Regions from separate parts of the Homo sapiens genome. Here region 2 is linked to region 1. The links are contacts of gene promoters, found by promoter capture Hi-C in human tissues and cell types (Jung and others, 2019). All regions are on one chromosome and are shown on one strand. Each heading gives the region's core, a stretch centred on a gene start or on the middle of the fragment in contact. The rest is flanking DNA. Distances are from core to core; before and after follow the strand shown.

What was found. The method cuts DNA at HindIII sites, captures the fragments that hold promoters and counts their contacts. A contact is called where the count stands out against the background at its distance.
Region 2: a contact is called between a fragment that was not itself captured here and the fragment with the promoter of PTPRG in region 1, in 1 of the 25 tissues and cell types used here (dorsolateral prefrontal cortex).

What each region holds. Positions count from the first base shown.
Region 1 is chr3:61,559,599-61,563,686 of GRCh38, forward strand. It overlaps PTPRG (protein tyrosine phosphatase receptor type G), which reads left to right and starts at 1,973. Exons shown (of 30, transcript NM_002841.4): 1 at 1,973-2,774. The coding sequence starts at 2,690. RefSeq lists an enhancer at 75-750. The HindIII fragment of the contact is 9,021 bases long and covers 1-4,088 here.
Region 2 is chr3:61,909,911-61,913,972 of GRCh38, forward strand. All of the region lies in intron 2 of PTPRG (protein tyrosine phosphatase receptor type G), which reads left to right. Among named protein-coding and RNA genes, the nearest start is that of PTPRG, 350 kb to the left of the region's middle. The HindIII fragment of the contact is 5,522 bases long and covers 1-4,062 here.

The DNA of each region.
Region 1 (4,088 bases), core at 723-3,222:
AAGTATTTGACGAGTTTTTCCTATTTTATCACTCGACATTAAGAAGGTAGTCAGGGATGCTGGGGTAATCTAACTTGAGGAACGAATATCCCTCATTACAACACTTCCAAGAAAAATGGCCCTCGCAATCCTTTATAAAGAAGTCAGGATTCCAATAAAACCAGGAAGGACCACATTCCAAAGCAAACAAACTCGCCTCATTCCCCACCCTGGGGGAGGGTGTTCACCCCCGTTCTGCTAAAGATAGAGCTAGGGCCCTCCCCAGGAACTTCCTGGCTTTTATTAGTTTGTAATCCCATACGTAACTTTTCAAAGGTTTTTCTTTTGGAAGTGTGGGTGTGAAAATGCTTCCTTAATCACATCGAACGGGAGGATCTCCGACCATCTGTACTTTATTTGAAAACCTAGCATCCGGTTGGGATGTTTGGGTGGGTGGAGGACCCTGCCGTGTTGGGATGAAACAGCAGGGACACGTTTAAAACACAAGAACCATGCGCGGTGGCTCACGCCTGTAATCTCAGCACTTTGGGAGGCTGAGGCAGGCGGATCACAAGGTCAGGAGTTCGAGACCAGCCTTGCCAAAACGGTGAAACCCCGCCTCTACAAAAAAAACCAAAATAAAACAAAAAACAAACAAAAAAAACCACCAAAAAAATAATCAGCCGGGCGTGGTGGCGGGCGCCTGTAGTCCCAGCTACTCGGGAGGCTGAGGCAGGAGAATCGCCCGAACCCGGGAGGCGAAGGTTGTAGTGAGCCGAAATCGAGCCACTGTACTCCAGCCTGGGCGACGGAGCGAGACTCCGTCTCAAAACAAAACAAAACAATCCCACGTCAAGATCGCTTTGAAACACAGGCAGAAAAATTAGGCAAAAAATGTCAAACGGCTAATTACCTTGGCTCAGTTACACATTTACTCGAAAGCCCGCCTCCCCCACTTTTAGCCCCAGCGTTAAGAATGTAAAATAGGGCGCTTAGAAGTCTAAGCGATAAAGATCTTCTTACCGAGAGCCAAGGGACAAAACTCATTACAGATAAGCCTAGTCCTCCCATTTCCCCCGGACGCCTCTCCCCGATTGCTAAAGAAGCAGCCGCTCCCCGGGTAGCTGCCAGGAAATCAGTCCGGCCCCGCGGCGCTGCTTTCACCCTGCAGGGTGTAAGAGGCGCACTTCCTGCGCCCTCCCCGCGGCCAAACCGGGGTGCGGGAACCTTCTCCAGAGAAGCTGCGAGTTGGGGAAACTCCGCCACCGATCCATCGTGGCGCCGGGAAAGGGGATGCGGGGCTCGGAAGGGCTAGATTTCGCAATCCTGGGATCGACATTCCTCCCCTCCCCCACTTTCCCCAGCCTTGGACTGGGCCAATGAAAGCCCGAAAAAGAAAAAAAAAAAAAATTAAATCTCAATGTAGCCGGAGTGCAAAGGCCGCTCGGCTTTGTTTCCCGGCGGGGGAATGCGCTGTGTTGGAGGCGCGAACAGGAGCCGCAGACGGTGAGCCTCACCGCTGCAAATGCCAGGGCAGTGAAGCCGAACAGAAAACCCCATCGCTTTAAAAAGGCAGCTGTCCGCCCTCCCCCTTTCCCCTCGCCAGGGCGAGGGGCCCCTCAAGTCCGGGATCCGCGAGCTGCGCGGAGGATCTCGCCAAACCCGAGCACCGTGCGGCGTCTTTTAAGAGCTCGAACAACGGGAATCCAGCAAAAAACAAGCCGGCCCCAGAAGGCAGCCTCCCTCCTCTCTCCGCGCACGGGCTACAATCGCCCCCAGTCCCCAAACTGTCCCAGTAGAGGCCGCGCGGAGAGAGCAGAGCCGAGGGACCCAGCGCAAGGCGGGAGCCAAGCGCGGCTGCTTTAAGAACGCGGAGAGCGCGCGCCCGCCGCCAGCTGGCCCGGGCTGCGCGCCCCCGCCGCCACCGCGCGCCCCCTGTTCGCTCGCTCCTTCGCTCGCCGGCTTTAAAGTCTCTGCCAGGATCCATGCTCACATGTTACTTCCTGTATGGAGGCATGGCCAGTTTCCAGCCCCGCGCTCTTCGTTCCTTCCCAGCCTGCGCCGGAGCCACAACTTTCAGGAGCATGGACTGAAGGCGCCCTCGCCCCAGCGCCCCTCTGAGATCCTTTGTGTTTTCCTCCGTTTCCTCCGGCCGTTTCTATTTTGGGGGGCTCTCCGCTCCCCCTGCCTCTCCCCTCCCCTTCCCCTCTCGCAAACATGCCTCCTTCCTTCCCGGGGCCCTGGAAGGAGCTGCCTGCCTGAAGCCCGGAGACGCCGCGCCGCGCTCAGCCCCGCCGCCGCCCGCCGGCTCTCGGGCTGTGCTGCGCTGCCGACTCAAGTTGGGGATCCTCGGCTGCTCGCCGCCGCCGCCCGCGGTCCCTGCCTGCCCCAGGCCCGGGGCATCGCCGCCGGCCGCCGACTCCGCGCCCTGCCCGATCGGCTCTCTCCTTTTTAAACGGAAAGCAGCCTTTCTCCGCCGAGAGGATCGTCCCCAGCGTGGCTCTGCGTTCCCGGTCACTTTTTGAGATTTTCCGGGGGGCGCTCGGCGGCTTCCCGGATTCCAAGGGGACTCGGGCCGCCGAGCGCGGGGGGCCCGTGGAGCGGGCGAGCCGGGGAAGCGCCCCGGCTTAGCGGAGGCTCGCACGGAGGCAAGAACTTATTCAACAAGTTTACCTCCCTGCTTTCCTCTTTTCGATGTGCGTTTTCGGACATGCGGAGGTTACTGGAACCGTGTTGGTGGATTTTGTTCCTGAAAATCACCAGTTCCGTGCTCCATTATGTCGTGTGCTTCCCCGGTGAGTGCCGGCCGCCGAGGGGATGCGGCCCCGGCCGGCGCGCGTTGGGGATGCGGAGTTGTCGCCTGGGCGCGGAGCTCCGGCGCCCGTCCGGGAGACCCTGGAGAGGGTGGAGGGTGGCCCGGCGCCCGGATAGGAGAAAAGGATTGCTCCGCTGGCTTGGATGATGTTTAGGGAGGCAGGCTAGTGGTCGAGGAAGGTGGAGGCAGGGGCTGGCCGGGGAGGGGGCTGGGGGACGCGGGGGTCTGCTCCCGCTCCCTTTTGGGGGTCCTGGGGAGCTGGAATCGGGAGAAAGGGGGACTTGCTTTGCTGACTCGTCGCCGATCGGGAGAACTCGAGTTGTGGGGCGGTTGGGGAGACTGAGGCCATGGAAAGGATGCTTCTGTGGGTTTGGGGGGCCCGGGATGAGCCCCCTCGCTCTGGCGGGTATTGAAGGAACTCAGAAGGTGGGGGTTTGCTTTGCTGTTCTCCATCCCTTTGGGAGGGCTAGGTTTCGGGGAATGGAAGTCGGAGGCTGGCTGCGGAGGACTGAGGATGTGTGGGGAGCAGCCTGCGTTCTGGGTCGGGGGCGTCCTCCCTCTCTCTGGGGGCTGGGGCGCGGGCAGCACTTCGGTGCCGGCGTGAGGCAGCCTCCTTGGGCGCAGTGAGACGGCAGGGCGCAGGCGGTTTCGGAGAGATCCGTGTCTCCCCTAGCCCCGGCCCGTGGCCCTTTCCCTCCGCTGCTCTGCTCGATTGGATTGCCTGGGTCTGGACGCGGGGAGGGGGCGGGGGCGGTTTCGGCGGCCGGGGCGGTTTCGGCGGCCGGGTTGCTGTTCGCGCCGGGGCTGATTTTTTTCCTGTCTCGCGCGCCCTGCCTACCTTCATCTTTGCCCTTTTGCAGGCTGTTCGCGGCTGGCAGACCCAGTCTCGCTCCTTTCTGGCCAGGTTAAGACAGGAACAATACTGGCCGTTGATAAGAATAAATCACCGCACGTAACGGTGTGCGGCTCGGCGACCCTCCACTTCCAGCTCTCAGCTGGCAGTTCCCCCTCCTCTCTCCCCTGGGGAGGGCAGAGGCCAGCTGCCTCCCTCTCCTCTCTTGCAGGTCCCCCGGGCAGCAGCCCCGAGCTCCCTCGTAGCTGTCCCTTGGGGTGGAGGCCAAGTCCTGCCCTAGCCCGGGGAAGGGCTGGAAGAAGGGGTGATTTGCTTTTCATCCCTCGCTCCCCTAAGGACAGAGAATTCCCCGTTTTTCTGCCCTCTCATCCATCAACTCCTGCATACCCGGAGGTGGAGGTTATCTGAATCAAGAAAAAGAGGAATGTGCCCCGAGGTCTC
Region 2 (4,062 bases), core at 741-3,240, 350 kb after region 1:
AGGTTCAGAGAGTTTAGTGATCATACTCTTCATGGCATACTGTCCTCCTTGGTTTGTGAAGGGGCTCCTTGTGGTTTGTTTTGCTTTACTTCATTTTTCTCTTTCACTCATATTCCATTCTTTTTTCCCCAAAGATGCTGATTAGTAGTATTTTTAATTCACTTATTTTTGTGTGATATATCTCATTATGCTGTTATGCATTTTAAATCAATGCCAATTTTCAAAGTCTGTTCACATGCCTTACGTACCTCTTCATTGCTTTTGAATGCTGTGTCCTATTTCGTGTATTGATCCATCCCATTCTTACCCATTCCCCACAGGGAGACACTTTGTTTGTCCTGATGAATTTTGCAAATTTAGTGAATTTGTTTGTTGCCGAATGTCACCAAAATGTGCTCCATCACTTCCTAGGATGACTCTACTGTTGCTCTGCACCATCTCTGTTTGAACATCAAGAGTCATATGAGCTTACCAAAGATTCTCATTGCCTCGTATCCTAATGTTGTCCAACCCAGTGGGTATGAAATGGTAACTCACTGTTTTACCTTGCCTTTCTCTTGTTGCTGGTGATGTTGAGCATCATTTTACACCTTTAACCACTGGATTTTCCTCTCCTGGATATTGCCTGTTCCAATTTGTTCCTGTTCCTTTCCTTTCTATGCTGGTAGTGACTGTGTTTTCTTAATTATGTTTAAGAAATTGAGAGTGAAGCCAGCCTTGTAGTACCTGGTGCAGGCTTTGTGTCTGTGAGATAACTCCCGAGGCTCCTCCTAGAATTTCTTTTTGTCTTTTAACAATCCAAGGCTGTCATTTTCCCTATGCTGTTGATTCCCACCTGCTTTCCCCACAGAACCCCCTGCCTCTGTTCGGTGCAGCCAGGAGGAAATCTGAGCAAGCCCCAGACGGTCCCTGCTTTGATTAAAACTGTCAGGGGCTTCCCTTGGCACTTAGGTGGAAGGCCTGAATCTTTGCCAGGTCTCAGCCCCACCTCCCATGATTCAATTCTTGACTCTGGTTGTCCCCCATTCTTTATGTTCTGGCCACAGAAGACCTCTGCCTTATTCTTCCAGCACCTTCTCTGGGCTCAGCACCTCTTATTCCCTCTGCTGCTCCTGTTGTCCTCTCTGCATCCTCTTTCACCTGGATAACGTCTACTCTTCCAGTTTCTCATAGTGTCTTTAGGAAAGCCCCTCTTGACCTTCATACTCCTCTCTCCTATGACAACCTCTATTTCCTTCTTTCAAACCCTTTCAATACTTATGAACTGATACTTAATACATTTTTGGTTTCAAGACAAAGAGGGGAAGGGGGCAGAGACATTTCCCTTGTGAACTTCGTAATCATGAGGTCAGTACCTGTGCCTTTGTTTCTCCTTACTGTATTTTAAGTGTCTGGCCAGGCACCAGAGACATAGAAGTCCAATTAATATTTGTTGAGAGTGGGATAAAAGAGTAGGCAAATTAAATGCTAATTCCATCACTTTGGCTTCCTATGTTATTTTTACTAAATATTTGAACCTATTTTTCCATTTGGGACTACTTTTGATTCTGCTTTTCACATTCACTATGAAAATACATTTAATTGCATTTTTCTTGTTGATTGAATAAATATACTTAAATACATATCTTTCTGTTAATATTGTCTACAAGTGTATTTTTAATAGGGGATGTATTTTACATGTCATTACCTTAAATGTCATTATATACCATGCTGCTGCGTCATGGTTTGTATGATTGTTTCCCCATTTTGAAGCATTGTTTTCAATTTCATTATTTTATAATGAAATGTAATATTTCTTGGTATAAATTAATTTCTTTTTTCCCCAAGTTACTTCTTTGAAATTACTGCGTTTGAACAGCTCTTATTAAAGGCTGCTAGATCATTTAAAGAAAGATTGAAGTTGGTTTCATTGCCAGCAGTGTGTACCTGTTTATCTAGAGCTCTACCAAAAATTGAATTTTATAATTTCATTGTATTTTAATAGCTGTGAAGTGTAACTTTAAAGTTGTTTCAATTTGCATTTCTTTCACTCCTGGTAAATCTGTGTATTTTTCACCAGGATGATTTACGCCCCCAATTTCTTCTATTTTAATTGTCAGTGTGCATCATTTGATGTCCTTCTAATGTAATTAAATCTTTTCTTTTTGTGAGTGGTGTAAGGAGCGAGTCCTCAGGATCTTATCTAGCTGCCTTCTATTTTTATGAAGTATTTTTGTAGCCTCATAGGATTTCCTTCTAAGAGTATTCCTTGGTACTCTTAGAAAATGCGCAACAGTATAGTCAGCTTTAGAAATACCCCTTCTTTATATATAATTTCCATGGGAATGTAGTTATGGCCCCTTACCACTATTAAGACCAAAACAGTCAGCAAACAAAACAATAACTCTTCTATTTACTTGGGTGAGAACTAGCCCACTGAGAAGGTAGGAGGAATTTGCATAATGAAGAGGGTGTTTTCTTGGTTCCCTTTTAAATTTAAAAATTACTCATGGATTTGCATTCTGTAGTGTCTCAGCATCATTTAGAATTAGGCTTTGCTTACTGAAGTCAAACTGCAAAGCTTCACTTATGTATGACTTAATTACCCTTTAATGTTAAAAAGAGGAAAAAGTAAAGAAAAAAAATCCTTTGGAATTGGTCATCATGATTGATTTTTGTGCTCAGAAGACCGACAGTCTTTTCTAAAAGTTGTATAGCTGTTTTTTGATCTTTTGCCTTTTTGTTTGATATTCTTGAATAATCTGCATAGTTTTGATATTTAATTCCCCTTATTCTTGTCAATCGGGACCAAGATTTGGGAGGTTGGCATTTCTTTATTCTCCATGCAGTTAGGAGTTTCTTGTAAAACATTTGAATTATGCAGAGCCTGGAATCATTTTAAGAGTGGTTTGATGTGGGTATTTTAGTTTACTGGCAGGAAACAGACTCTGGAAACAAGTCATTGATGTTTAGGTTTTATTTTTTTTTCACCATTTTTTAGTATTTTTCTTCCAATTTCTTTTTGCTTTACTGGTTTTTCTCATGCTGAAAATAACATGAACAGGTGTATGTGAAGGACTGCAGTGGACAGCTGGGCAGGCTGCTCACTGTGTGAGAGCACCAGCCAAGGAGACCAATGGCGGCTGCATATCAGAGCAAGGGACACCTTTTCTTTTCATTTAAACTTTAGATTCAGGGGATACATGTGCAGTTATGTTATATGGATGTATTGCATAATGTTGGAGTTTGGGCTTCTGTTGAACCCATCACCCAAATAGTGAGCGTAGTCCCCAGCAGGTACTTTTTCAACCTTTGAGGGGACAACGTTTTCTTTTTTATTTTTTTTCTGAGACGGAGTCTCGCTCTATCACCCAGGCTGGAGTGCAGTGGCGCGATCTTGGCTCACTGCAAGCTCCGCCTCCTGGGTTCATGCCATTCTCCTGCCTCAGCCTCCCGAGTAGCTGGGACTACAGGTGCCCGCCACCACGCCCGCCTAATTTTTTGTATTTTTAGTAGAGACGGGATTTCGCTGTGCTAGCCAGGATGGTTTCAATCTCCTGACCTCGTGATCCGCCTGCCTCAGCATTCCAAAGTGCTGGGATTACAGGCGTGAGCCACCGCACCCGGCCGAGGGACACCTTTTTCTGATTCATACAGATGCACTCTACGAGTGCATATGTATGTGTATGCACTCATATGGATGTGTGGCTTCAGTGGTTGCTCAGAGTTTTCTAGATCTTATATTTCTGTATGAGTTTCTTTACGTCTTTTTGTAACCTTGCTTTTGTGGTCTTCACAAAGGGATATCCAGTGGTCTGTGCCTTTTATTCCATTGAAAGCATATTCCTTACTAAGTCTGCACCCATGGCTGGATGAGCATTACCTCGTTCATTACACCTGAAGTGAACATACTTGGTTATGTGACTAATCTCTAAGGGAAATCTCCCCAGCTTTTAGTTTTGTCTGATGCTTTCTTCTCACCAGTGTGAATGTCTGGGTTTCTAAAGCTGTGTAAACTGAGAGGCGTGGTCTTAGAGAAGAGCTCAGCTCTCAGAGATCGGTCCAAATTTACTAAAGAATCCT